4 separate regions of the Homo sapiens genome follow, and regions 1, 2 and 4 are each linked to region 3. Evidence: promoter capture Hi-C in 16 types of primary human blood cells and fetal thymus (Javierre and others, 2016). All regions are on one chromosome and are shown on one strand. Each heading gives the region's core, a stretch centred on a gene start or on the middle of the fragment in contact. The rest is flanking DNA. Distances are from core to core; before and after follow the strand shown.

Region 1 (7,153 bases), core at 4,563-7,062, 200 kb after region 3:
ACACTTTATTTACTTAATGAAAGTTGCTAAGTCAGAAGTTTAATCCATAACACAAATAGATTTTTATTTATGATGAATACAAAAAAAAGTCCCCTCAATTTAGAAACTAATTGTACTGTTTTGGCTTTGTGGCATTTATTTCCTTTTCCCCTGTTTTTTAAAACTATTGAGAGTAACAAGTTAGAGAAAGTGAATGTTAGCTATTTTGGCCAAAAGTTTAATAAGAACGATTTCAGTTAATAGTGACCTTAAGGTTTGAGGATTATTTCTGGATTCCAGGGATTTATGTTTTGTTTGCCCCCCGCTTCATCATACTAATTGAGAAATGTGTGTGCACGAACTTCAACTCTTAAACCATAACTTCAGTGGAACACAGAAAAAAATACTCTAGAACTTATACCCCTGCTGTTTCCGTACCACAATTAAATAAAGACTGCATTACAGGCTATTGTGTGTGCTTCATAAGAGAAGCTCTTCACTTTTTAAAAACTGCAAATTGACAATTTATAATTATATAAATTTATGGGGTATAAAGTGATGTTATGATTCATGAATAAAATGTGGACTAATTAACATCTATCACCTCAAGTACTTAACATTTTCTGTAGTGAGAACTTTAGAAATATTCTCTTAACAATTTTGAAGTGTACAATACTCTATTATTAATTATATTCACTTTTAAATGCTTCACTGAATGAGCCTTGGCTCTTACCTAGGACCTCAGGTGGCTCAGACTGGAGGCCTTCTGGCTGCTGGCCCTGCAGCACGTTGAGCAGGGCTTGGAGACTCCTGAGACACAGGGATGGATGAGAAAATCGTGTCTCTTTGATCAATTCAAAAACTTCACAAAGGCCAACCTCAATAATCTATTTAAAAGGAAAAAATATATATACTTTATGACATGTAAGCTAGTAACACTTTCTAAGCAGTTTAGTTGGTACAAGTTACTTCCACAGCAAATGATAATGTATATGTATAATGGAGCCATAATAAAACATCATGAAAATGGCTTATAACAATGAACTAGAGACTAGATTGCATTCACTCAGAAGAAATAAACTATATTAATTTGCAAAGTTCATTTGATTGTACTCAAGGAAAATTCAGTACTCTTTTTGTCAAAAGTCATGTTAATTGTTACCTATAACCAGAAATAAAGTCAACACAGCACATATAGTAAAAAGATTTTACAAGGAGCTTTTCGTCTTAGCCTTTTCTATAATGGTACAATCACTATATTATTATTTATAGTTGGTATCCCTTCTTGTAGGATGATCACAAAACAATTTAAAACTGCTTAGCTAAAAATATCACTGGTACTTTTCCTTTAATTATCTTACTATTCCTCATCAGGTGCAAGAAAAATCAGACTCTATATCCAGCAAAAGAGATAAATTTGTTACTAAAGATTGAGAGAGCAAATTGCAATGAATGAGTTTAAGGATATACCTTCATAAGACTGATAAAACAAAAGACAAATTCCATTTCTCAGGCAATGTCAACATTCTGAGAACCAGTTCAAGAAGTATTAATTAAATTGTTTGGAGAAGTAACAGAAAAATTGAAATAAGACTAATTAGTAGAAACTCCCAAAACCATTAATTCTATTGAACACAACAGTGGAAGAATATTCTCTCTGCTGATATTTTTGCATTAATTCATATATTACATAAATACCTCCTAAGCACTCATATTGTGCAAACTCACTTTAGGAAATATGAAGGTATACTAGACCCTGTCCTCTAAGAGTTTATAATCTAATAGGGTAAATTAGTCATGCTATATAATTCATACTCAATACAGACCTCTGTTATAGCATTTATTACATTACAGTATAACTATTTTTGTTTTCATTTTCCCAACCATGTTGGGATCTTCCAATATACAAGGAACATGTCTTAAACGGCTTGTATTATCTTCCAATATACAAGGAACATGTCTTAAACGGCTTAATACCTCCCATGCCTAGCCAATTACCTAGCATATGGTAGGCACACATTAAATATTTGTTTAATTTATTCACTAAATTGTTTGCTAAAAAACCACTGCATCTCAGAAATACATTTTCTAAACCAGAAGCAAGTCGGCTGAAGGTAAGTCAATTGTAGTTCTGATTAACATTTACAAGTTTTCTGGAAACAACAGATATAGCTAAGAAGTCAAATAACTAGGAGGACTGTCTTTGGAGAAGTTATCTAAAATGCTAACAGACTTGATTATAGCTAATATTACAGAAGAGTCTGCATAGAGTTTCAATTGATTAAACACATTAAGTGATTAAACTTTCACATTTGATATAGTTTCTTTTCCTGGAATGGACTAGAAAACAAGAACATGCTGTCCAAGATTTCCATCTGCTTATGTACTTACAGGAAAGAGAAATGTGAAGTCAAAGATCTCCAGAGTACAAAATATGGGGCTCTATTCTCAAGCCAATGGAAGACTACTATATTCTGTTATTCTTTCAGATTGCTTACTCTGCTACCAACCATGATTTTTCATAAATCCAAGAGGATTTTTCACAGATGACATTTTTGGCTAAGGTTCATTTATTATAGATACAGTTTCCTACGGTGACAACGGAATTATTGAACCTTGCCAGAAACAGTAAGACTGCCTAATGAACAGGTTCTTGATCTCTCTGGTAAGTTTAAGGTGTAATAACAAGTGAATGGCAATAGGCAACTCAGGTGGGCTGCCTAGAAACAGAGCTAGCCGGTTTTAGTGAGACTGGCCCATAAAACTTTGGTCACAATGATGATAGGGAACTCTTCATCTGTCTGGGTTAAACACTGTGAGAGTCTCACTAATTATCCACATCTTGGTTCATTGTAGACTTTTTGTTTAACAAATGGGAAAACATTCATTTTCAGAATAGTAATATATATTCAATACACAACAAAAATCAACCTCAAGTTCTGCAACTATTAAAGAATTTTTAATATTTAGCTATGGATTATTGCACAGAGGTAACAGACATGTTCTTAAATAAGTCTTTTTCTGCTGTTTGGCTAAGTATAAAGTATTTTACCAAAAGTTTGAACTTTGAAAGTAGACTTTAAAACAGTTTGAAGTCTTATAGTCAATGAAAACACATATTTCTCCCTCCTTCAGTATCAGGAAGGAAGAGTGTAAGGAGAAAAAATATAGTCCTGCCAATATAGTATTATTTCATTTGTGTGTAAAAAACATTTTAATGTGTACATAGAAAAAATGACAAAAGAAATAAAAATGTTTATATTGGGGTATATTTTGGTTAATGGTATTTCAAATATTACTTCCGATTTTTAATACCTCTTTAGAAAAATGTTCTGATTTTTCAAATCATCTACAATAAATATGTATAATTAGCAAAATAAATAAATGTGATATTTAATAAAAATAATAATTATAACAATAAAAGAACACAAGAAGCTTCAATACTTTCCATAACGAACTATAACTAATTACCCAACACATGCTTTCGCACTTCTCTTCAGAAAATAGTCTTTTGTAAATTTACTGAATTTTACCTTTACTGCTGCTCTCAAATAATTAAATTTTGAAGGTTATCTATCATATTTGAAAGATAAAGAAACATGAAGCCCAAATAATTACCTGATACAGCCAGTCTAATATGCTAGGAAAGTGAGATAAAAATATATTTGGCCAAAGAAAAATGATATATAAAGAGTCTTTCAAGGTTTTATTTTGCCCTTCTCAAATCATATATTTCCAAACGTGACTTTATTATTTCATGACTAAGTGTGATCATAAAAGTTTAGTTACATCACATTTGGATTTAATAATTAATTCTTTACCCTTAAAAATTGTATCTTGTTTAGTTAAAAGGTCCTAAAATCACTTCCTATACTTTTATATTTGAAAAAGCTCAAAAGGAAATCAAAATTATATTTACATATTACCATAGAGTGAAGTATACTGTCTTTTAAAATTGTTTGTATAAAGCAAATATTTGGTACAGAGATAATATCTACAAATAATAAAAAATTTAAAAATCTAGAGACAGAGAAAAAAGGAGGGGGAAGAGGCAGCAGCAGAAAGAGAGGAGGAGAAGGCTAAGATGGAGAATTCTGAATGTGAGGCCGGGTGTGGTAGCTCACACCTATAATCCCAGCACTTTGGGAGGCCAAGGTTGGGAGATCACCTGAGGTCAGGAGTTGCAAACCAGCCTAGCCAACATGGTGAAACCCCATCTCTACTAAAAATACAAAATTAGCCAGGCATGGTGGCGCATGCCTGTAATCCCAGCTACTTGGGAGGCTGAGGCAGGAGAATCACTTGAACCCAGGAGGTGGAGGCTGCAGTGAGCCAAGATCGTGCCACTGCACTTCAGCCTGGGCAAGCAGAGTGAAACTCCATCTTGAAAAAAAAAAAAAAAAGAAAGAAAGTATGAGTGTGAAGTTTCTGAGTTCCTTGCCTAACAAATTTATCTATGACTACTACCATCTTCTTCCCTTCTCTTCACACTCAGAGGAAGAGAACTTTTCAAAACTTTTCAACTTTTCAAAGCTATTTTTTCAAACAATGTTCTTGATCCCACCCCCTCCGATCTCTCACAGAAATTTGTTTCAACTTGTGCCTACATAGTGATAACTCCCAAATCTATTTTTCTAGCTGACACTTATTTTTTGAACTTCAGCCCTACATAGCACACACTGGATACTTCACATTTACCTCAGAATCAGCATGTGAACTAAACTTGATCATCATTTCAGCCAAGCACTGTTCCTCATCCAGTATTCCCTCTTTCAGTAAAGGCCCTCACCACACAAAACCTTTAAGAATATCTTTAGATTCTGCCTTCTTTTTCAGTCGTTATAGCCAATTTATTACTAATTCCTGTCAATTCTGCTTAACATTTCCTATATTCAAAACACTGTCACTACCATAATTCCAACCCTCATTAACACTCTCTAGACAACTGCAATAACTGCCTAAATGGTTCCTCTGTCTCCAGTCTCACTCACCACCCTGTAGTTATGGATATGCCTTACTAACCGGAGTACAAAGTTACTTACTAACTGGAGTACAAAGTTACTTACTTACTGGAGTACAAAGTTACTCCAGTGTTAGTAAGGCATATTCATAACTACAGGGTGGTGAGTCTGATGCAATCATGCAAGTCTGATGATATTCTTTTGCTTAAAATCTTCAATATTTACTAATTATGAGATAACATCTGAATCAATTACATGGCACATAAGGCCCTTCATGATTTAGCTTCCTGCTCTCTCTCTCTTGCTCTATCTCAGCCAGTGTTGAGTCCTTTCTCTAACGTGTTCCACTATATCTAGCACTCCCTATCAATCCTTAAGGCACTAGAGAATATTTATTGACCTGGTTCTTATCCCTACAAGACAATGCTTTCTTGAGGGCAGGAATTATGTCTCATCCTTTTGTTCTCAGGACCTAATATAATGCTGGCTACAAATTCAAAAAGAATATACTGAATTAAGAAAGAAATGATCCTAGGTAAGTCTAAATCTTTTAATAATGTGGCATGACTGGCTTCAAATGGGTTCAGATGGGAAATATGACTTCTAAGCGTTACTATTTAAAAATTATGCACCAGGCACGGTGACTCCTGCCTGTAATCCCAGTACTTTGGAAGGCTGAGGCGGTCAGACTGCTTGAGCTCAAGAGTTCGAGACCAGCCTGGGCAATCTGGCAAAACCCCATCTCTACTAAAAATACAAAAAGTATCCTGGGGTGGTGGCAAACACCTGTAGTCCCAGCTACATGGGAGGCTAATGTGGGATGATCACTTGAGCCCAGGAGGCGGAAGTTAACGGTGAGCTGAGATCACGCCACTGCACTCCAGCCCCAGTGACAGAGCCAGACCCTGTCTCAAAATGAAAATAAAAACAAAAATAATAAAAATTATGTAGCTATAAAATCTGTAAAGTTTTAGAGGATGTAGATTTTAGTGACAGTTTGAGCTGGTTAAAAAACTTAATGTAGAAGCATTCAGGGAATAGAAAGCTCGTTTAAATACATCAATGATTACTGATCCGCAAAACACAAAAACAAAAGCAAAAAGCAAAAGGGTGACAATCAAGGTCTATATAACAGTCAAACTCAATTTATTAGTAACTAAATAATAATTTAAAACTCAAGAATGGGAAAAATAAAACTGTATTACAACAACACTTCAACAACAGATTAAAAACTGTCTTAATCATGTTAAGGAAAAAAAAAAAAGAGTACAAGAAACAGAAACCTCAGGCAAGAAGGAATGGGACAGCCACACACTTAGGAGGAGCAACAGAGGAACAAAGAAAAGGAGCAAACTAGGATAATAGCAGCATTTGGGGCTGAGGCACAGAGAAGGTCAAAGGGAAAAGAAAAATGCCAACATTTCCCACTTGCCTTCAAATCCCATCACCTCAAACCTTAAGAGACTAATTTCGTCCTCAGTGTCAATCCTTCATGTCATGGAAATGGCTGCCAAAAAATATCACCTGAAAGTTTCACTCCCCACCCATAGTATCTGCTTGCCTCTGCATAGAGGCATCTCATCACTTCTTCCTCTCTTTACCTCTCATTCATCAGGTGATTGCACTGATTCTCTAGAAGTTTCATTTGCTTGCATAATTTTTTTAATAAACTGAAGAGTTCCTTGACAAGTAACTCAAATTCATTTGCACCTACACATTTTCTTGTTTGCACCTAAACTGACACTTACAACTATATATATCATTTACCGAGCACTTCTTTCTGCCAGGTACTGTTCTCTCAAGCACTCAACATCCATTAATTCATTTAAATTGTCACTACAACCCTATGAGGTAGATGCAACCCCCAATCTATAGATGACAAAACTGAGGCACGGATGTGTCAAATAACTTCCAGTGTCACATAGCTAGTAATTTTAATGGTGTTTGAACCCCAGCAGTTTGGCTCCATAACCCATGCTAACCCTGTTTGCAGACAGGTCAGTACTTGGTAGAAAATTCAGTATTAATCACTTGGGCTATCTGATCTTCTTTAATTTTCTTTGAAAGATACCCCTTTGACTCTGTTAATTATGCTGCAAAAGGTTATCTTAAGAATGCCTGATATTTCATTTAATACTCACTAATCCTGATGTTTTTAAACACCCTAGGAATCCATTGTTCTTGTTTATGCAATTTAATTTGAACTACAGTTT
Region 2 (6,700 bases), core at 1,816-4,315, 180 kb after region 3:
ATACACAGTTATTTTCTAAACTTCACTTATTCATGTATTACTTTCATTATATTTGTCATATCCAAGTGCCACTCATATTATCTATTTAATATGTTTTGTATCAACTCTAAATTGATTGAAGCATCTTTAACATTAACAATCAAAGATTATTATTTTTCCAATATACATTAAAATAAAAACATGTTATCAAGTATTTGTTTTATTTAAATTACAAATAGTATCAATCTCATATTATGCTTTGGGAAAACTGTTCTACATTATTAGCTCAGATATCACTACCTTAAGGTGGCCTTCACTTTCACCTTTCACTAGTTTAGGTCTTTTTGTTAATTATACCTCAAAAATTTCCACTTTTAATATTTAGCACATTTGAAAAAGGTAAGGGTGTGTGTATATATATAAAACAGTAGTTATTTATTATTATTATTAACAGTACTAGCTGACATGCTTTGAGACCTTACATGATGTGCTAAGCATTTCTTAAGTTCTACCTCCTATAATCTTCATAACAACTATATGAAGCAGGTGCTATCATTATCTATTTTTTGCAGGTAGAAAAAAACAAAAAGAAAACTCTTAAATGTTTAGTAAACTGTTACCCAGTTAAAGATTAAGTAAACTGTTACCCAATTAAAAGCGTTGGTGCCAAGGGCCATGCGCGGTGGCTCACGCCTGTATTCCCAGCACTTGAGGAGGCTGAGGCGAGTGTATCACTTGAGGTCAGGAGTTCGAGACCAGCCTGGCCAACACAGTGAAACCTCGTCTCTACTAAAAATACAAAAAATACAAAAAATTAGCTGGGTGTTGTGGCACGTGCCTATAATCTCAGCTACTTGGGAGGCTGAGGTGGGACAATCGCTGGAACCTAGGAGGCAGAGGTTGCAGTAAGCTGAGATTGTGCCACTGCACTCCAGCCTGGGAGACAGAGTGAGACTCCCTCTCAAAAAAAAAAAGTGTTGGTGCTAGGATCTCAGTCTATGTCCATAACCATTCAATACCACTTCCCCAATATTTAAGTTCTGTAATACCCAACTGTCTCTCGGATCCTCAAAAAGGCAGTATCCAGGTCTGTCAGGTCCATCAATCACTAATGTATCACCCATGCTCAATAAATATATGTTGAAGAAATATACAAGTTTCCATCAGCTCTACCCAGTGGATGTTAGCAAGCAACAATTATATTGAATATTATTTTTAAACTGTACAAGAACCCACTCCCAAATTTTGATTTACTCTGATAGCTGCAGCCAATTGAGAATCTAAATATTACAACATTAAGCCAGTTCACTTATCATCTGGGTACACCTCCACTTAATAATTAATTGCTATAAATGTTCTACAGGTGTAATTTCCCCAGCATGGGACAATTACATATATTTCTAATCATAAACTTCATTAATTCTAGTTTCCTTTTTTACAAAGAAACTCAAAGGCTTTACATATTTATCACACATAAAATCCTTCCAAGTGGGATGCTTCACTCATTATATTCATTTCTAGCTGCTAGAAAGAAAATCTAGTAACCAAATATGACAAGTTTTTGAGATTAGCATTTATAAATATAAAACCATTTAGCTAGTTCTACCCCTCATATCCACTTCTCAAACTTTTGGTTTATCAGTCACCCAGGCACTAGAAAATAATTCTTGAGACCCTACAATGTGCCAGACACTGTGCTGGGCACTGGGGATAGAATAGTAAATAAGACAGATCATCCCAGCCAAACACCCTAATGGGGGAGATAAAATACTTCAACAATTATAAACTAGCTATGTCATGAAAATCACTTCTTCAGGATACTACCACTGTCCCAGGGACATGTCCCATAAGCACCTGAGTCTAGGGAAAACATCCACAGAAGTCACAGCTACAGCGAAGCTTCCCTTGCCAAGCTCTATGATTAGCTTTGCATGAAACTAGGGACAGTGCTCCTAGTGACAAGATATGACAGAAAATTTCTCTTTCGAAATATTTCACATTTGGAAGGAAATGTAAAAAATGTAGAGAAAGCATGCCACCAACATAAATTTTCTAGATATGTCTTTGTCATACATAACTAGTATTGAAACTTCTTTGCATAAAAGTAAAACTTTTTATTAACTTACTTGAACTATCAGAGTAAATGGCATCTTTTCCAAACATGTAGAGTTCTCCATCTTTAGAAATAACAGAACTACTTCCATTATTGCAGGCTGTATATACCACAATCTTTCCTTCCATCTTAATTATCTTTTTAGGTTTATAAGGTTTGGATTGCCGTCTGCTCTTAGCTTTAAAAAAGAAATTAGATTAAATCAAGACCTCTATGTACAAATAATAATAATAATGGTTTGTATATAAAGCTAAAAAAAAAACCCATATTATTTGCATTTATGACACTATTTGTTTATTTTCACAAAGGCCTGGGCTTCCCAACATGTCATTTAAAATCAGTGAACCTGCTAGCCTCATCTGGTCAATTAATATTTACGCTATCATTGCTAGATCCTCATTCCCTGAAGTACATTCAAATTCTCAGTGAGTAATATTAGTTTTCTACCAAACTCCTGGAGGGCCCAATCTCTAAATTAGCTATTGCATTATTAATACCATTCTACTAACACATATCTAAAATCTCCTTTTTTTCCCAAGTTGTAATTCACATGTATTCTTGTTAGATCCTGGAAAGTAAAATAAGTTCCTCATTCATTCAATATGTATTTATTAAGCAGTTACATCAAGTCAATGATATATATATAAAGTTGGTGTGGTGTTATTGAAATTCATAAACTTTATCTTAATAAAGTTTTATTTTTACTAAAATAAAGCATTTATTTTTATTAAATGCATAGTTGATCACTCAACTTACTTGATTCTCCATCTTCTCCTTTACTAGCAGATCCTGTAAAGAATATGCTCCCATCTTCTGCAACTAAAAGGGCGTGAGAGCCATCGTGTCCAACTGAGAAGTGTACTATCTTTGGAGATTTTGTAATTGGTAGCTCAACCCATTTTCCTGCTGAAGGACCACCTTGTTTGATTCCAAGACTCTGGTATTTGCCAGTGTAATATATCTTATGTATTAAAAAAAAAAAGGAATTATGGTACTTTTTGGAATAGTGCATCAGGTTTCACATGAGGAAAAAAAAGGACATCAATATTTTATTGAAAAATAAAATTCACATAAAAACAAACTCTTTTTTACACTATTCAGCTTCTGGGAGTTGAGCAAGAAATACACATATTTTGCCAAGAAGACACAGTTCATAATAGCTTTTTCATATCTTTTATCCATTAAGTTTCCTGTCTTCTATAGGCACAATTCACAGCACCCTAAAATAATTACAATAGTAACATCAAAGATAACAGATCACCATAACAGATATAATAATAATAAAGAAGTCTGAAATATTTCGAGAATTACCAAAGTGTGACACAGAGACACAAAGTGAGCACAGGCGGTTAGAAAAATGATGCCAACAGACTTGCTCAACTCAGGGTTGTCACAAACCTTCAATTTGTAAAAAGAGCAATTATTTGTGAAGTGTAACAAAACTAAGCACAATAAAATGAGGCATGCCTGTACTGTTCCCTACATGAATAAAATTTTATCTTATAAAAAATAATTTTAAATCAAAATTTAAAAGATGATTCTTCTTAAACATGCAAACTATATAAACTAATCAACAGATTGTATTTTAATCTCTTAAATCAGAGAATGCTCATTTTTAATCCAAAGAGAATAATTTACCTTTCCATTTGCTGTTTTCATTAGCGCAAACTCTCGTCCTGCACCAAGAATTGCTGACTCCTCATCAAATCCTGTACCTGAAATACGAGACTAATAAATACTATTGCATTTCTAATATGAAGAATTCTAAATACAACATGCACTATTTTAAGTGATTGCAATGTCAATTCAAAATCACTAAAAAACAAGGATGACAAAATGTCATGTGCTCAAATTTTTAAAAATATTAACCATAGGTATAGTACTCCAAGGAAAGATAAAGTTATCATAATCTGTTTCTCTTGTTCCAAACCAGTACCAAATTAATTTTTTAAATATACGACAAAAAAATTTAAAAATTCAATGTCAGCAATATTCCTTGAATTAATGTATAAATGCTCAAAGTTTTATTGAGCGTTTATTAGGTACCAGGCATTATACAATTCACAAAATTTATCTCATTTGATTCTCACAACTATACCACTTGGTTTACAAATAAGCATATATAAAGGTTGGAGAGGTTAGTCCAGACACAGAGTCATTCAAGCTTGGAACAATGCCATGCAGATATTTGAATTAAAGTATTTCAGATTCTCTGCCTATGTCTTTTTCTACAGAAAGACATCTTATATAGCTACTCCATCAATTCAAATATATATATATGTAAATATGCATATACACACACAGATCCTTATGCATATTTTCAAATTGTAAAACTATGAGTAATTGTAGCTTTACATATGGTACATTTTATGACTTTGTCCAGCTATACAAACTACTAACTAGTTTATGGGCTTTAAAAATTTTAAATCTGTAATTTCAATTCAAGATTTTTCTAGGGAAGAATTATAAAAATACTACATAATTAGAATATAGAAAGTAAAGCACTAATGCCAAGTTTATGAAATGTAATGAGATAACAGTCAAAAAAGATGGATCTTGCAAAGAACCCTACAAGTTACGGAAGGTCACTATTAAACCTGGAGTGGCATGGCAAGCCAAAACTAAAACTCTCAGGAGAACTCATGATCCTAATTACTTTTACAACATTACAAAAGTAAATAATCTAAGCCCAAGAAATACTCTGTGGTTATCTGTATTTCTCTATCCAAGTGAAAGATTACTGATCCGTGTGTAAGGCCAATTACCATTTTGACAATCTATGAGATCATTCTATAGTTACCTTGAAAATCTATTCAAGTAAAAACTTTAAAAATTTCAACGAGAGAACTATGTATATTGTTGTAATAACATTTACAACGTAAGTTTTCAAATTTTTAAATAGTTGAAAAATGATGCAGCATATAAACTAATGACATTCACCAATATCCATCCATAATTCTCATTAAATTTTATTTTCTTTTGCTCTATTCAAAGCAAAAAAGAGAAATTATTAGTCAATTCCTTAGAATGGTCTTCAAATATCATACTTTGTTTAAAGACTGTGTTTCCCAGTTATTTATTCATATTAATTCAAAATTATCCTTTATATTAATAGTAACAGACACAAAATAGCTGCTACAACATAAGCTGAACTGGTGAAAACACAATGTTCATTTTTAAGAGTATGAAAAATTGAAAATTAAAATATAGGGAAAACACTTAATTTGCTATCTTACTTATAATATGCAAGTCCTTTTCCAGATCGAATAGTGAGATACCACAGGCATGTAAGCATTTTCTAGCCAGTTTAAGTTGCAATTCTTGCTGTAGAACAGGTTCAGTGCTTGTGGCAAATATTCTGACAACAAAGCCATCCTAAGAAAAATAAAACATCCACAGCATTACATTACATAAAGAGGTCGTTCAAGGCTCTACAGTCTATCTAATAAAAGCTAAATAATTTAAGGAAAAGGAATTCCATTTACACTAGCTACTTAAGATTCAGGATACTTACATCTCTTGAAGCAGCTATCTGATTAATATATTCTCCATCAGTGAATAAAATATTTTGACCTTCAGTGTGGCAATCTGTGCAAAAGAAAAAGTATTTATATTACAATACAAGCAAACACCTTGCAAAATGAATTTACTCCTCTGTTGAAGTCAAAATGAGAGTTCTCCACGCAATAAGGATAAACTCAAAAGGAGACTGTGCTTTTTAATAAAGAATTATAAATTAGCAGAAACTAATTCAACTAATCATACTTATTACATTTTTGCTTATATTTATAAATCTTCCATAACCAAGGACCTGAGATCCCACCTAATTTCAAAATGAATTAGTATTAGATATAGTCTGACAGTAAACATGCACCACGATGAACAAACTATAATGTTGGTTACAATCATTTCAATACAATCACATGCAATGGAGGCAACACTCTACTCTCAGACATACATCACAGTCATTAGTGTCACAGAAAAATACGACCTAAAGCTTCTGTATTTGACATCTATTGTGTCCAACTACAGATATCCCTTGCTTTGTAAAATGGATATTCAAAACCAGTTGTACATTTCCCACTTAAAAATTCAATGTTTATTCACAGCATTTTTAGCATTTAGTGTGCTCTAAACTTTTTAAATGTTTGTCCAACAAGAGCAGACAAATATATGCTTATGCTTTTATTTTTATCTCAAAGCAGTCATGTATCTTGGCTAGAATACCATATTTCATCAATACTGCATGTATCTCCATAGAATAGTACACCATATACTTTGATCAAAATAATGCACAAGCTCAATTGTAACAAGGGATACCAGTATTACAGAAGGACCACAGGAACACGTGTTAGTGATTGCTACTAAATAACACAAAACTACAAGCAAAATCAACATCAAGGATAAATTCTGTCCTTTTGGAAAAACAAATTTTCAGCAAGCAAGTTAAAAGCACACACACACACACACACATACTTCCCAAAATAACTGCAGAAAACTAGGATGAATCTCTCCATTAATCACAATACCAAAACAAAAAATAACATTTCATTTCTAGTTGCACCTGAATCAACAAAACATAAAATTCTGATTTTGAAATGCAGTAAT
Region 3 (6,470 bases), core at 2,566-5,065:
AATCCAGATCAACCTGGTTGAGTAGAAAAGAGGCAGGAACCTGATTCAGCTGGATCACTTTTATCACTGTGCTGGACTTAGCATTGATACCAGCAAGCTCAAATAACAAAGAATTGCACAGAGTAAAGGTTATGAGGTTATTTCACACTGATTTTCTTATTTCAACCAGGTGAAGATAAGTAATATTATTTATAGTAGCTATTACACAGATGAAGAAACTAAGGTTAATACAGGTTAAGGGATTTTCAGTAAATGGTGGAATTGAGAATTAAAATCCAGGCCTGACTACGATATGGCTTCCGAGCAAAATTATATGAGTGAAATAATTACAAATAATTTATATGACTGTACTTTATCTATATCATCTGTAAGTGGAAACCTCACAAGATCAGAAAAGGGTTCTTTTTTTGTGCATCCTCACATTAAAGTACCATTTAAAGATAAGGGACTTTAAAGTGCAGTTACTTAATATGTTTTACTTTTGAACAAAAATTACATAATATGTAACTTCACACTTGTGATTCCTTATTTCACTAATTTTCATTGAGAATATGACTTTTTTTTTCAAGGATTAAATGTTAATATACTGTGAAATAGTTCTTGACACTATTCCCTTCATAAAATAAAAACTGTTCTTATGGCATTTAATAACCAAGAAATGACCTGGCGATTTCTATGTGATTTAAATAGACATTAAGTTGATATTATTTTAATTAATAATGTCAATTTTCAAAAAGGGGTATTAAGTATAAACAAACACAATCTCATTGAATAGGATTATTTTCCCAAATTCTTCAACAATTTAAACAAAATTTATTATATGTTTAGTCCAAAATCTTAATTGATTCCTTCAATGTGATTTGAAAACAAGCAAGCAAGCAAGCGATTGGCCAACTTTTTGTGAGATAAAGTAGCCAGTGAGGAACAGATTTGACAAAGTTTCATGAATACAAGTAAGGGAGCTTGAGCACAGTCTCAGACACATGCCTAGATAAAACTTAACTTGTTTCTAAAGTTGGTTTAAACTGACTTGCAACCTGGATATAGCTGCAGTGTTATAAGTGTTATAACAGACAGATTTTTCAGGCCAGAGGACAATAACCTGTATTAACTCAAAGTATAGGTGAAGTAAGGTTTTAAGTGTGAATGGGATCTGTGATAAATTTTAAGATACCCTGAGTCTTTGTTGGGGAGTAGGGTAGGGAGACTGTAGGTACAATATAATTGCTCATGACTGGGGAACATTTAGGAAAACAGGTGAGATGTCCAGCACAGGGATGGTGGTTACTATTCCTATGTTTTGGACCACTTGTCAATTTAGTGTTCTGTAAATAGATAATTCCCTATAATACTTTGGTTGTGTGCCAAGGGTGGAATTCAATAGTGAAGGCTGAGAAGAAGAAATTTCTCTCTAGGTAGCGAAACATTTAATGACAAAATTTCAATTACCTGCTTTATTCTGCACAAATCTTCTACTGCTTTGCCAGTTAAGAAGGTCATTGAGGTAACTTTATTCTGAAATAGACAATTCACAATAGTTAATATGCTATATTCCTGCTTCAGAACTTACAATGGTTTCTCATGACCTACTAATACCACATCAACTCTTCTGCCTGTCTCTTATGGTCCTTCCTGATTGACCCCACCCCATCCCTCCAACTAACCACGGTTCCTATAACTTTAGTCTCATTCTCACAAACTCCATCTTAAATTGCACATTTCAGCCTCTCTCCAGGTGCTCTCTCACAGCTTGACATTCCCTCTCCTTATTCAAAGTCTAAATATTCAGATTCCTTCCTCATGAAGCCTTTCAACAAATCTGCTTGTCACTTATGTCAGACTCTTGTTGCTATATTTTCATTACTTTTGGAAGTATAAAGAGGGAAGGTAACTGAACTAACAAATACTTATGAGTGTCACAATGTACCCAGACTTCCTTACAGATTTGAAGTAGGATATATGAGAGGAGGTTCTATCCCCCAAGATACTTGCCAAACTAGGGAAGGCAACATTAATACACAAAATAAATGTCAAACAGTACAAGTTCAATACATGTTCAAACTAGTGTCAAATATCTTAAGGCTGAATAAGTTTTACGCAAAGCACATCAAGAAATAGATTAACATTAATTCCTTGGAGAGCTGCATAATATGAGTGCTGTAGGCTGATACAACTCAAATCAACAAATGCTGTGTACAAGGCTCTGTGGTAGGCAGGTTGAGGAACATGGAGGTACATAACTCAAGGAAAACATACATACAGGTTGAGTATCCTTTATTAGAAATATTTGGGACTAGAAGTGTTTTGGATTAGGGATTTTTTAGGATTTTGAAATACTCTATTTGCATTATCCTTACTGGCTGGGCACCCCAAATCTGAATATCTAAAACCAGAAATGCTCCAATATGCATTTCCTTTAAGTGTCATATCTGTGTTCAAAAAGTTTCAGATTCTGTAGCATTTTGGATTTTCAGATTTGGAATGCTCAACCTATAACATAGAGGAAGCCTGTTAAAAGGAAAGTAGATGTCAGCTTACATGTTGGGAATTTTGAAAATGAATACTGTTATGATTATTTCCTCTTAGAAAAGACAGAAGTGTTAAATTGATTGCAATCATTGTTCTGAGGGAGAGTATGTCCTTGCTTAAAATGTACCATGAGCCAAAGATAGCTTTGCACTGAACAGTGAGTTCTAGCTACAAAAATGTTTTGCTTTGTTACACTTGACTTTCCAGTAAGATAAAGTAGTTACACCAGTGGAAATTCTTAGGTCTGAGGAGGAAATAGCTCATATTATATTAGCTAAGCCTCTTTTACTTACTCAATACCAGGGAGGAATAGAACCTGCACTGATGTACAGGAGTTGGAGGTTGCTCTGATTGCAGACTGGCCTGCATCCAGGTTATCTGAGACCCAATCCTACCACTGTGGCTCTTCCTGAGAAAGGAAATATGCAAATGGCACAGGAGAAGCCAGGCAATGGTTCAAGGAGAGCCATTAATACTGTATCTGCTAGCAAGCCACATCCATTCTGAGGAAAAAAATTCTAAATGAGGTAGAAGAAAGGCAGTCTGGCAGTTAGTGCTATTTCTTTCTTGGTTGTTAATACTCAAGCAAATAGGACTCTTTTTTCTTGTTTAGTGCCTTTTATAAAAGAATATTTAATTCAGTTGAAACACATGGATGAACTAGGCTGAAGAGAATATAAATTATGATTATTTGGGACAGTCTGAAACTTATTTTTTATTTCATGAGGACTGTGGCAAAGTAGACACTTGAAGATAGGCTGGGTGCAGTGGCTCATGTCTGTAATCCTAGCACTTTGGGAGGCTGAGGTGGGCAGATCACTTGAGGCCAGGGGTTTGAGACCGGCCTGGACAACATGGTGAAACCCTGTCTCTACTAAAAATACAAAAATTAGCCAAGCATGGTGGCGTGTGCTTGTAATCCCAGCTACTCAGGAGGTTGAAGCAGGAGAATCGTTTGAACCTGGAGGCGAAGGTTGCAGTGAGCCAAGATTGTGCCACTGCACTCCAGCCTGGGTGACAGAGGGAGACTCCATCTCAGAAAAAAAAAAAAAAGCTGATTACACTATAGGTCAAAGATTATTATTAAGTGCCACCAGAGTAATACAAAAAGAATCAGCAGAGGGAAAGAGTAATTTTTTAGAGGAGTTACTTAGAATTTCTCTGCTGAGTTTGAGAGACCCTGGAAGAATTGATCAGCAGAGTTTAAGGGGAGGACTTCCAGGTCACGGGAAAATCTTAACCAAGGGAATGGCAGCAGAAAATTGTAGAGCAGACTTTCATTTTGCTTAGCTGTAGCCATGGTATATTTGTAATCAGACCTCTTTTCAGAAATGGAATTCCACAGTGCTCCCAATCATATTAATTTGTTTTTAGACTTAAGATTTATTTGGGGATTATAGCAATGATGTTTGGTTGGTGAAATTCCAGGTGATAAAGCTTGTTGCTAAATTCAGAAATGAAAGTGCATGAATACTAAGATCTGAAAAGAGCTAAAGAGCCGTAAATCACGTTTGCTTTCTTACCCCAAGATCTCGGGAATTGTCCACGTGAACAGACACATAGCGGGCATTGATTCCTTTTACACAGTTGATGGTGATGTTCTTAGTTTTGTTTTTATCTTCATCTCCTGATTCCCAAAAGGTTTCTGTGGAGCCGTCTGTCAAACTGCCAATCATGGCAGGTCGGCTTGAAGTTTTTATGTCAACAATGCTGGTTAAGTCCTTTAAGCACATTACTATGCATAATTCCTATCAGAAACAAATATAAGTACTTATGATACTTAAAAGCAAATCTTTCGTGATGATAAAACAAACAGGTATAAGATAAAACATAATGGAAGACAGGATCAAATTGATTATGAATAACTTACAGTTTCTCCTTTGATGTATTATTAACTAACAGGACAACCAGGATAATAACTGAAATGACTGACCTGACTCATAGCTTCAAAGCCAGACTGTATACTGATGCTAAAACTCTCTTCACTATCGCCATCATCTGACTTTGACAAAATATTGTTAATGTGATGAAAGACGTTGCTCTGATGAAGGAACTGGTGATCAGATTGCTTGAATTTGAGACTCCAGCACCTAAAAAGGCGATATATAAGCAATATACGAAATAATTATTTTCCAGGAACATCTAAGGAACTCTTAGATGAGTACTCTGTAGCTAATATCTCAAGAAATTTTAATGTTCTAGTAACAGACATTTTAAAAATTCAGGGAAGAAAATCATTCCTATTGTTTTTGTTTTTGAGAAATAAAGGTAACTTCTTTGGAACAAGGTAAATTCTAAGGAAAGTTGACCCATTTTAAATATAAAAGAATTAGACAGATGAAGATCAAGGCTACAGAAGCAAAAAGGGTAATGAATCTATTGTGTAAACAAGTGGTACACCAACTGCAACAACCCCTCAAATTTATTACTCTTACAATGCCATACTAATTCATCAGGGTATAGTTTATCTTGTAGTTCAAAAATCTTGTGAGGAGGACAAAGAGAAATCTCTCTTCCACTGGTCTTATCATTAGTAACATGGGAAGCCCAAGCATTCCATCAATCTATTTCTTGTATACATTAATTAGGAGAATTTATTTATAAGTGTGAGTCCAGTATGTGAATCTAGTAACAAGGTTCACAGTGTAAAAGCAATGCTAAATTCTCAACACATTTCAAATTGAAATTGGAATCTGTTGAGCATCTGTGATGCTCCTTAAGGTGCTTTTAGGACTGGGTGCATACAACCAGGCTCTGTTTTCCCCAAGATTCTTTTCAAGTCAAAACTCTATTTTGGTTTTTGTTTTTGAGATTTCATTTTCCCTCTCTCTTTTTGGGACATTTAAGTGATTTGAGGTAGGAGACTGGGGAAAGTGAGGGAGATTGCTACAGTGATAATTTAGGGCACTAAGAATTACATTAGCCACATTTTACAGGAGGGCAAACAAATGTTAACTAAGAGGAAGGACCATTCTAAAAATTATGACTGTAAGGAGGGAGGCACCATCTATATAATGTAGGGATTCTATCTTACTATTTAAAGAGCTTTTTTTGGAGCATTTCATACTTTGAATATTCCATAAACTCTCTTGTCCAATGTACCTAGGATATGTGGATACCAAAATTACCTCAGGGCCATTTGCTGTAATGAACTGCCGCTGGGGAGAGACATCATAAGGTCTGAGATGGTCTGCAGCAAGCGGTGAAAGGTGTGTGGTAAAGGATGAGCAGCTTCCCCGGCAATCACTATGTCTGAGAGTGGATGTTCACATACTCTTGTATCTTTCTCCTAAGGCAGAAATTGAAACAAGTTTATCAGTTTGTGTGCTGGAAGGAATCCTCTTCACAAAAGACTATTATGTATACTTAAAAAATGGTCATGTAACAGAAATACAAACAACAAAACCAAATTGTACCCAGAAAGATACAGTAATTTTAACTAATTATGCTTGTATTATTTTAGGGAAAAAAGCTGTAAGTTTAGTCACAAGCAAAATCAGCATGCAAATGAATAAATGTATCAATTCTAGTGTACTCACAAAGATACCTGTAGGGTGAATCCACATGTGTATGCATGTGTATGTGTAGTGTGTGTGCATATATATGTATGTGTATGGATATATACACATACATATATGTAGGTATGTTTTGTGTGTATGTTTATGTATAAAAAATAACATATGTTTAGAAGTTGGGGTGGTCACTAACTCATACAGCATTTTTATGTGAATTAGAAAAAAAAGCTCCTTTCTACGCAAATGGACCACAGCTAGGAAAGAGAAGTAGGGGTTGAATTTCATTTCTCATTACAACCCTCAGATGGCTCCATTAATAATATTAACTATGGAATAACTTTTTATTATTTTGAGTAGATAACACACATCATAATAAAATATTCAAGAGGTATAAAAAAATACCATAAAAAGTCTCCCTGTCTCTAC
Region 4 (6,444 bases), core at 3,376-5,875, 140 kb after region 3:
AATTGTTATATTATATTCTGGAAACAGAAAAAAGAGCTAATATAGACAAATTATAAGGCAATGGTATAATGCAATATTATTAATGTTTTAAAAATTCCTTACAGAAAAACTTCCAAATGTGAAGACCTGTCCATCCATTAAAAGTACTGCCGTATGGTTGCTGCCTGCAGTGACTTGTGTGCTAGGGCCTGGCAATGCTTGAACAAGAGTGGGACATCCCCTAGGTTAAAAAAAAAAAAAGTAAGTCAATTTCTTACAAAACTCAACTAAAATAAAAACAATAAGTAAGCAATGCAACAAGGAGTAGGAAAGATAAAAGGCACTCATAAGAATATTCAGTAAACATTTAAGTGCTAAACGCCTATCTCCATTCCAGGTACTAGGTAAACAAAGATGAAAAAGACAGTTGCTGACTTTAAGGAGATCATCAAAAAGATCTTCTAAATGTAATTACCCTAATTATAGACACATAATAATTTCTGAAAAACTGGTGCTACATTTATTTTTAATCTGGTACTCTGTATACTGACTGGCCTGTTAGAGATCTTTATAAATAATTATTGGATGAAATAAAAATCATGTAATGCCTTAACAGAAATTCAATCCAGGAACTAGATGAAATAATTTTATGATCATCTTTTCTAACTTTTATCACTAAGCTATAAGTTTAGATCTTAGAATCACAGTTAATGAGTCAAAACACAGTATCATGAGAGGCATTAGAGCAGTGACTACAAGCTCAGGCTTTAAAGCTAGACTGGCTGGTTGTGAATCCTGGCTCCCCAACTTAATAATAATGCGACCAGACTTCGAACAAGTTTTTCATTCTTTTTGTATTTCAGTTTCCTCTTTATCACATGGAGAATACTAACAAACGGTGTCTACCCCCACAGAGTTCCTGTGAACAGTAAAGAGGCCCATACGTGTCAAGTACTTGGATCAGCGTCTGGCACACAGTTAACACTTAATGAACAGTAACTATTATGATAAATGACATCCTAGTATCCTTTCCTACTTTTAACAGCCATTTTTAGTAACCATTATCTGTAATTAGAAACACAACCATTATAGAAATAGTCCACACATAGCAGGAGAGCTCTGCTTTTGAGAAATGTAATTATGACACTTTAAATTTTAAAAATTATATAGTAGTTTGGGTAATTTATGATGAAGGCCTTAACTAGGAGCAGTGCAGAGTGAAAGAGATGGTGACTTTGATAGCTATGTAAGGAACAGAATTGATGAAACTTGGCAGATGATCGATATGGGGCAAGGAAGATTTTTTTTGCTTAAGCAACAGAGTAGATAGTGGTAATATTCACTTAAGCTATGAGAATGAATGAGATCTAGGAAGACTCTTTGAGAGAGAAAAGAAGAGATCCTAATTTCCCTTATGAGTCTCTTCTAACATTTTAGATACAGACCGAGGAAGAACAGCTCACAGACATCTAGAATAAACCACACAGAAAGAAAGAACTCAAGGAGACTCATTGGAGGAGTAGGTTTCAAGCGTGGAAAATAAAGTACATGCCAAATGCTCTAAGGAGACATACACCTAACCACTCGATTTAGCAGAAGGAGGTCTCTTTGGTGGAAGCAGGCACCACAATGCAGCAGATAAGGAGTCAGAGAATACACAAAGTAGCTCTAAGTATCCCAGCACTAAAGGGAAAAAGAAAGGAGAGCCAGCAGCTAAAGGAAAAATGAAGCTGAAGGAGAGGATTTTTTTTTTTTAATGATAAGAGATTTGAGGAAGTTTAAAAGGTGACTCAAAATAAAGACGCTAAAGACAAAGGTTAGAGAGAAGACAGGAAACAGAAATAGATCTCTAAGGAAAAGACAGCTAGGTTTCATAGCAAGGACACAACAGGTTCCTCTTTAACTGTAACATGAGGAAAGAAGCAGAGAAGTGGTATGGATGGAAGTAGGTTTGCAGGGTTGGTGGGCTGAATAATTTCTTACATCTGTTGCAATGTACATGGAGATCCTATGCTAAAAGGAGGAAACAGGTGAGTGGAGAGTTTGAAGATTCGAGAAAAGGTGTGGTGGTAGATGGAATAGATACATACCGAGAGCAGGAGTTTTCAACTCAGATATAAAGGACTTCTAGGAAGTCCATGAGTGAGCTTCAAAAGATCTCCTAAATTTGCAAGCAAATTTTTAAGTGTATATTCTTGTATTTTTCATAGAGACCCCATGTCTTTCATCAAACTCTCAAAAGGTATTAAGTCAAATAGTTCAATACTACACAACAGGAGGATTAATGACCATTGTACAGGAACTGGTTGAATCTGGAAATTAAGTATCAATCTGCATAGGTATGGTGATTTCTTACCTTCCAGAAGCCTAAGTATAGGCATAGGAAATATTAAGATTGATTCATGTTTGCGGTTTTATCATGTCCTAGCACCACGACCAAGAGAGTGGGAAAACTGAAGAAACTGGTAAGAGTATAGGTGAAGAAATTAAGCAACAGTCTTTAACTTGAGTAGGAAATAAAGTTAAAAAAAGGGTGAAAAAAGAGTAAAAAAGTAGAGGGCTGTGGGGCATAAAGTCAAAGGGAAATAAAGTAGGGCTGCATCACAGAAGAAGAAAGTATCATCAGATTATGGATATTTAAACTTGAGAAACTGAGACACAAGAAGATTAAGTAACCTGGCCAAGATCATATAGCTACCAAGTGACAGAATCAGGACCCAACCTAGAGACTGAACTCAGTCATTCTGGCAATATAACACATTAAATAAAGAGAATATCAATAACACTTTTCCATCTTCATTATCATGCATACCACAATATTGATCTTAAACAACACATTATTAATGTGTGCTATATAGTAAATTCCAGTTAACAGCTCTTGATTACTAGAGACTTTTCAAACATATTCTCCAACTGTAACCCTTTATTTCAACTATCTGTAAATGTTTTGCTTTGTTGTAGTTAATACATATGCTATAGAAGCTTTGTTCCTCCCAAGATTGTTCCTCTATAGACATAATCAACTCCTTTCTGAATTAATAACAGAGTTCTTGGTTGCTACTTTCCAAGTTCCACAAAAGTCCAGACAGACAGGGTAACTGAGTGCTTAAGACTGAAGCGGTCTTGATGAATATCTAATCCACTAGGCACAGTATATAGGTATGACTACTGCATTATCCGTTGTAGCTCTGCCCACACTTCATGTAATCAGTCTTTCAGTTACCACTCAATGGAACAAGGACCAAAACATTCCATGCTGGAAAAGAACAACTTTGGGCAGTTAAAACAAATCCCACCAGTGTTTAATCTTAAGAAATTATAGTCATATGGTTGGTAAGAAGTGAAGAGCTGAACCTTGCCTCTACAGTTCCAGGTTCGATGACTATGTAGCATCTACCAGTTACTATACCACTGTGTAGATCCTACCAATGTTTAATCTTCATAAGAAACCCTGATATTTTGTTTCAACATTAAATGCTATCGTATTTCATGAAGACGATAAATTCAAGCAATTTAAAATATTGAGCATATTGCTACAATATTATTACCTGAGGAAGTCTGGCCTGAAACTGCCCTATATCTCTTCAGACTTGGGAATCGAAGAATGGTGTTCACTGGTATAATCAGGACCACGAAGTAATGTTTTTAGGTAATCTCTTCATTTTAAAAGCTGACATGAACACCTTCCCTCTCAGCGGCCAACACACCTCAGTGTGGTGTGGAAGGATGTTGTGCTCATGCTGCTCATTCTTCTGAGTGCCAAGTGCACAGTAAGATAACATAACCTGACTATAACATGGCCATGCTTTTCACTACTTCCCTTTCCACTCTGGCAAGACCATGAAATACTATTTGCCAATTATTTTCTGTGAAGTGCCCTCTTTGCTGCATACATGACTGAGACCCCATCTTATCTAACTGCAATGCACCTTTCCCAGTTTCTATGGCTCACAAAATAACCACCAGCTAAATAACAACAACAATAGCCACGATGATACAAATAAACCCTCTTCTTCTGTGTCCCAACTCTCAAATGAGAAACAGAACAAAAAGTTGCCACGTTCTTCCCCACACAGGTTATAGTCATCCCTCAGCATCCATGGGGAATTGGTTCCAGGATCCCCTGCAGCTACCAAACTCTAGGGATGCTCAAATCCCTTATATAAATTGGCATAGTATTTGTACATAAACTACACATCCTCCTGTATACTTTAAAACATCTCTAGATTACTTATAATACCTAATACAATGTAAACACCATGTTAATAGTTGTTATACTCTGTTGTTTAGGAAATAATAACAAGACAAAAACATCTGTACATGTGCAGTACAGATGCAATTATCGTAGGCCTAACTATGTTTTCTGTCAAGATTGATTGAATCCACAGATGCAGAACCCACAGGTACAGAGGGCCAACTGTAATTACTACCCAGATTCAGCCTCTGCATTTCAGTAATGTTACTCAATTGCAAAGCAAAATATCAGTTGGCATCTAACACCTGTGACAGTAATTGCTCAACACTGTTGGTATTATGTCATATCCAGCAGACACATCTGATAAAGTAATTCTGCCAAACACATCTTTTGCTCTTTGCAAGTATGATATTAGTCATTAAATATTTATGATTGTGATAGTTTTACAAACCTCTTGATAGTAGTATCAATTTTATGTTTCAGTTGTGTTTTTAATAAGAAGTTCAACTCAATGATATCTCAATCGTCTCTTATCATTAGCAACAACATTCATAAACATAACTCAGGACATTCCCTTTTGTTGCCATTTTTTATGCAGTGCCCACAGATCTGACCCTGCCTCAGCTCGAAGGGTAGAGAGTGGTTCTCATCCTGGATACATATAGAATCTGGGGACCTTTTAGAAAAAACTCTGATGCTGGCATCCTATCAAGGACCACTCCCCACCCCTGTCCCACCCACAAGCCTTTCAACACACACATCTCTCAGAAATGCTGGATGTAGAATCCACATATGATATTTTTTCAAATTCCCTAAGTAATTCTAATATACAGCCAGGGTTAAGAATCACTAATCTTTACCATGTAAATGGCAGAATTCCATCCCTGCCACAATAGTAGAGTGAGTTCAAGACACAGTGACAACCTTGAATTTTATTTAATGACTATGTGAAGGTAAGTTCTCTTTCTTTCACTGTATGTAAAGGAGAAACCATAGAAGTCCCCTTGATTCTGGCATATACACTGTGACTGCGAGGAAGAATAAGGCAGAGTAGAAGGTCAAAAGGTAAGTTTTTGCAGCTAAGTGAATTGCTGAGTGAAGTCTGGCTTGAAGCTGCTCTCTATCTTTCCAGACTTCATAAATACTCCTGTTTCCATGGTGAGACAACCACAGACACAGACCACTCAGATCTCCTTCAAGACAATCTGCTACAGAGAGCAGAGTTAACTATTATAACAGCCTCAGGTGCTGTCCCTTTGGATGCACGAGGACATTCGTCCCCTGGGGTGCTACCAGCTGTGACTGAACATGGTGAAGGTATGAATGTTGGTCTATTCCTGCCCAATGCAGGACCCTTCCAAAGGTATCCTCAGCTTGGGGACACATCACTGGCCTGGCTAAAACTCTCTTAATGTTATGCTGGAACCTAGACTCCTACCCGATTCTTCCTTCTCTTTCTCCTTTCATAGGGTCAAAACTACATGTATCTAATAAATTCTTTGCATATCTAATCCTGTCTTGGCATCTGCTTTCTGGAAGACCTGAACTAATAAAGATGGATTTTCTATTACTTTTGACCAAAAGTATTCTGACTGCATTACGTAGAATACAAACTCGGCTGCTGTAATGAAAGACAAGTAAGAGGGACTTCAAGATACAAGTTTATTTCTCACGCAAGAAGCATGCAATTTAAGAAGCTGATGAGGCAGTTCATGGTGTCAGAGACCCAGCCTATTCCCATCTTATGATTCTGCCATTCTCAGTACACAGTCTCCAACTTATCTCTGTGATGACTTCTTTAGTTTCTGCTTCCACATATTCATTCCAGCCAGCAAGCTGGGAAGAGAGAAGGACAAATGGAAAGGTACACCCTTTCCCTTTAACAGCAAGATTCCAAAGTGGCACCTATCACTTAAGTTCACATGGCCACATCCTGCTGCAATGGAAGCTGAGAAAGGGAATCTTTAGCTGCACGATCATGTCACGAACTAAAACTAAAACTAAAACAAATGAAGTAGGGATATTAGGAAATTACCACCAGTCTCTCTACTACTATTTGCAATAAGTCAAAAGAGTTAATCAGAGAGACCAATAGGTTCTGTCCAAAAATTATTCAAAAGCTTCAATGACTGCATGTTATTAGACCAAAATTTCAAAACAGACATCAGGAATATGTTTGAATCCATTGCTGACATTTTTTAAAAATACAATTCACTATTTTTCTATTGCCATGCACAGCCTTTAAAAAGATAATTGCTAAGAATATAGTG

What was found. Contacts are between HindIII fragments. The CHiCAGO score rates a contact against its expected background, and 5 or more counts as called.
Region 1: a fragment that was not itself captured here is called in contact with the fragment with the promoter of MYCBP2-AS2 in region 3 in 2 of 17 cell types (naive B cells and total B cells); the score reaches 8.0 in naive B cells.
Region 2: a contact is called between a fragment that was not itself captured here and the fragment with the promoter of MYCBP2-AS2 in region 3, in 3 of 17 cell types (total B cells, naive B cells and megakaryocytes). The highest score is 9.9, in total B cells.
Region 4: a fragment that was not itself captured here is called in contact with the fragment with the promoter of MYCBP2-AS2 in region 3 in 2 of 17 cell types (naive B cells and naive CD4 T cells); the score reaches 5.8 in naive B cells.

The regions. Positions count from the first base shown.
Region 1 is chr13:77,278,046-77,285,198 of GRCh38, forward strand. MYCBP2 (MYC binding protein 2) reads right to left here. Exons shown (of 83, transcript NM_015057.5): 4 at 713-866. It overlaps LOC124903184 (a long non-coding RNA gene), which reads left to right and starts at 2,608. Exons shown (of 3, transcript XR_007063827.1): 1 at 2,608-2,644; 2 at 5,410-5,475. The HindIII fragment of the contact is 4,800 bases long and covers 3,413-7,153 here.
Region 2 is chr13:77,258,323-77,265,022 of GRCh38, forward strand. It overlaps MYCBP2 (MYC binding protein 2), which reads right to left. Exons shown (of 83, transcript NM_015057.5): 9 at 5,607-5,680; 10 at 5,329-5,467; 11 at 3,731-3,807; 12 at 2,849-3,053; 13 at 2,106-2,270. Among named protein-coding and RNA genes, the nearest start is that of MYCBP2, 65 kb to the right of the region's middle. The HindIII fragment of the contact is 2,378 bases long and covers 1,877-4,254 here.
Region 3 is chr13:77,077,375-77,083,844 of GRCh38, forward strand. MYCBP2-AS2 (MYCBP2 antisense RNA 2) reads right to left here and starts at 3,816. Exons shown (of 2, transcript NR_170173.1): 1 at 3,540-3,816; 2 at 3,137-3,287. It overlaps MYCBP2 (MYC binding protein 2), which reads right to left. Exons shown (of 83, transcript NM_015057.5): 63 at 5,658-5,818; 64 at 4,463-4,619; 65 at 4,053-4,277; 66 at 1,450-1,515; 67 at 1-13. It overlaps MYCBP2-AS1 (MYCBP2 antisense RNA 1), which reads left to right. Exons shown (of 4, transcript NR_046716.1): 3 at 5,636-5,738. The HindIII fragment of the contact is 5,615 bases long and covers 1-3,964 here.
Region 4 is chr13:77,217,738-77,224,181 of GRCh38, forward strand. MYCBP2 (MYC binding protein 2) reads right to left here. Exons shown (of 83, transcript NM_015057.5): 21 at 103-220. Among named protein-coding and RNA genes, the nearest start is that of MYCBP2, 110 kb to the right of the region's middle. The HindIII fragment of the contact is 3,333 bases long and covers 2,960-6,292 here.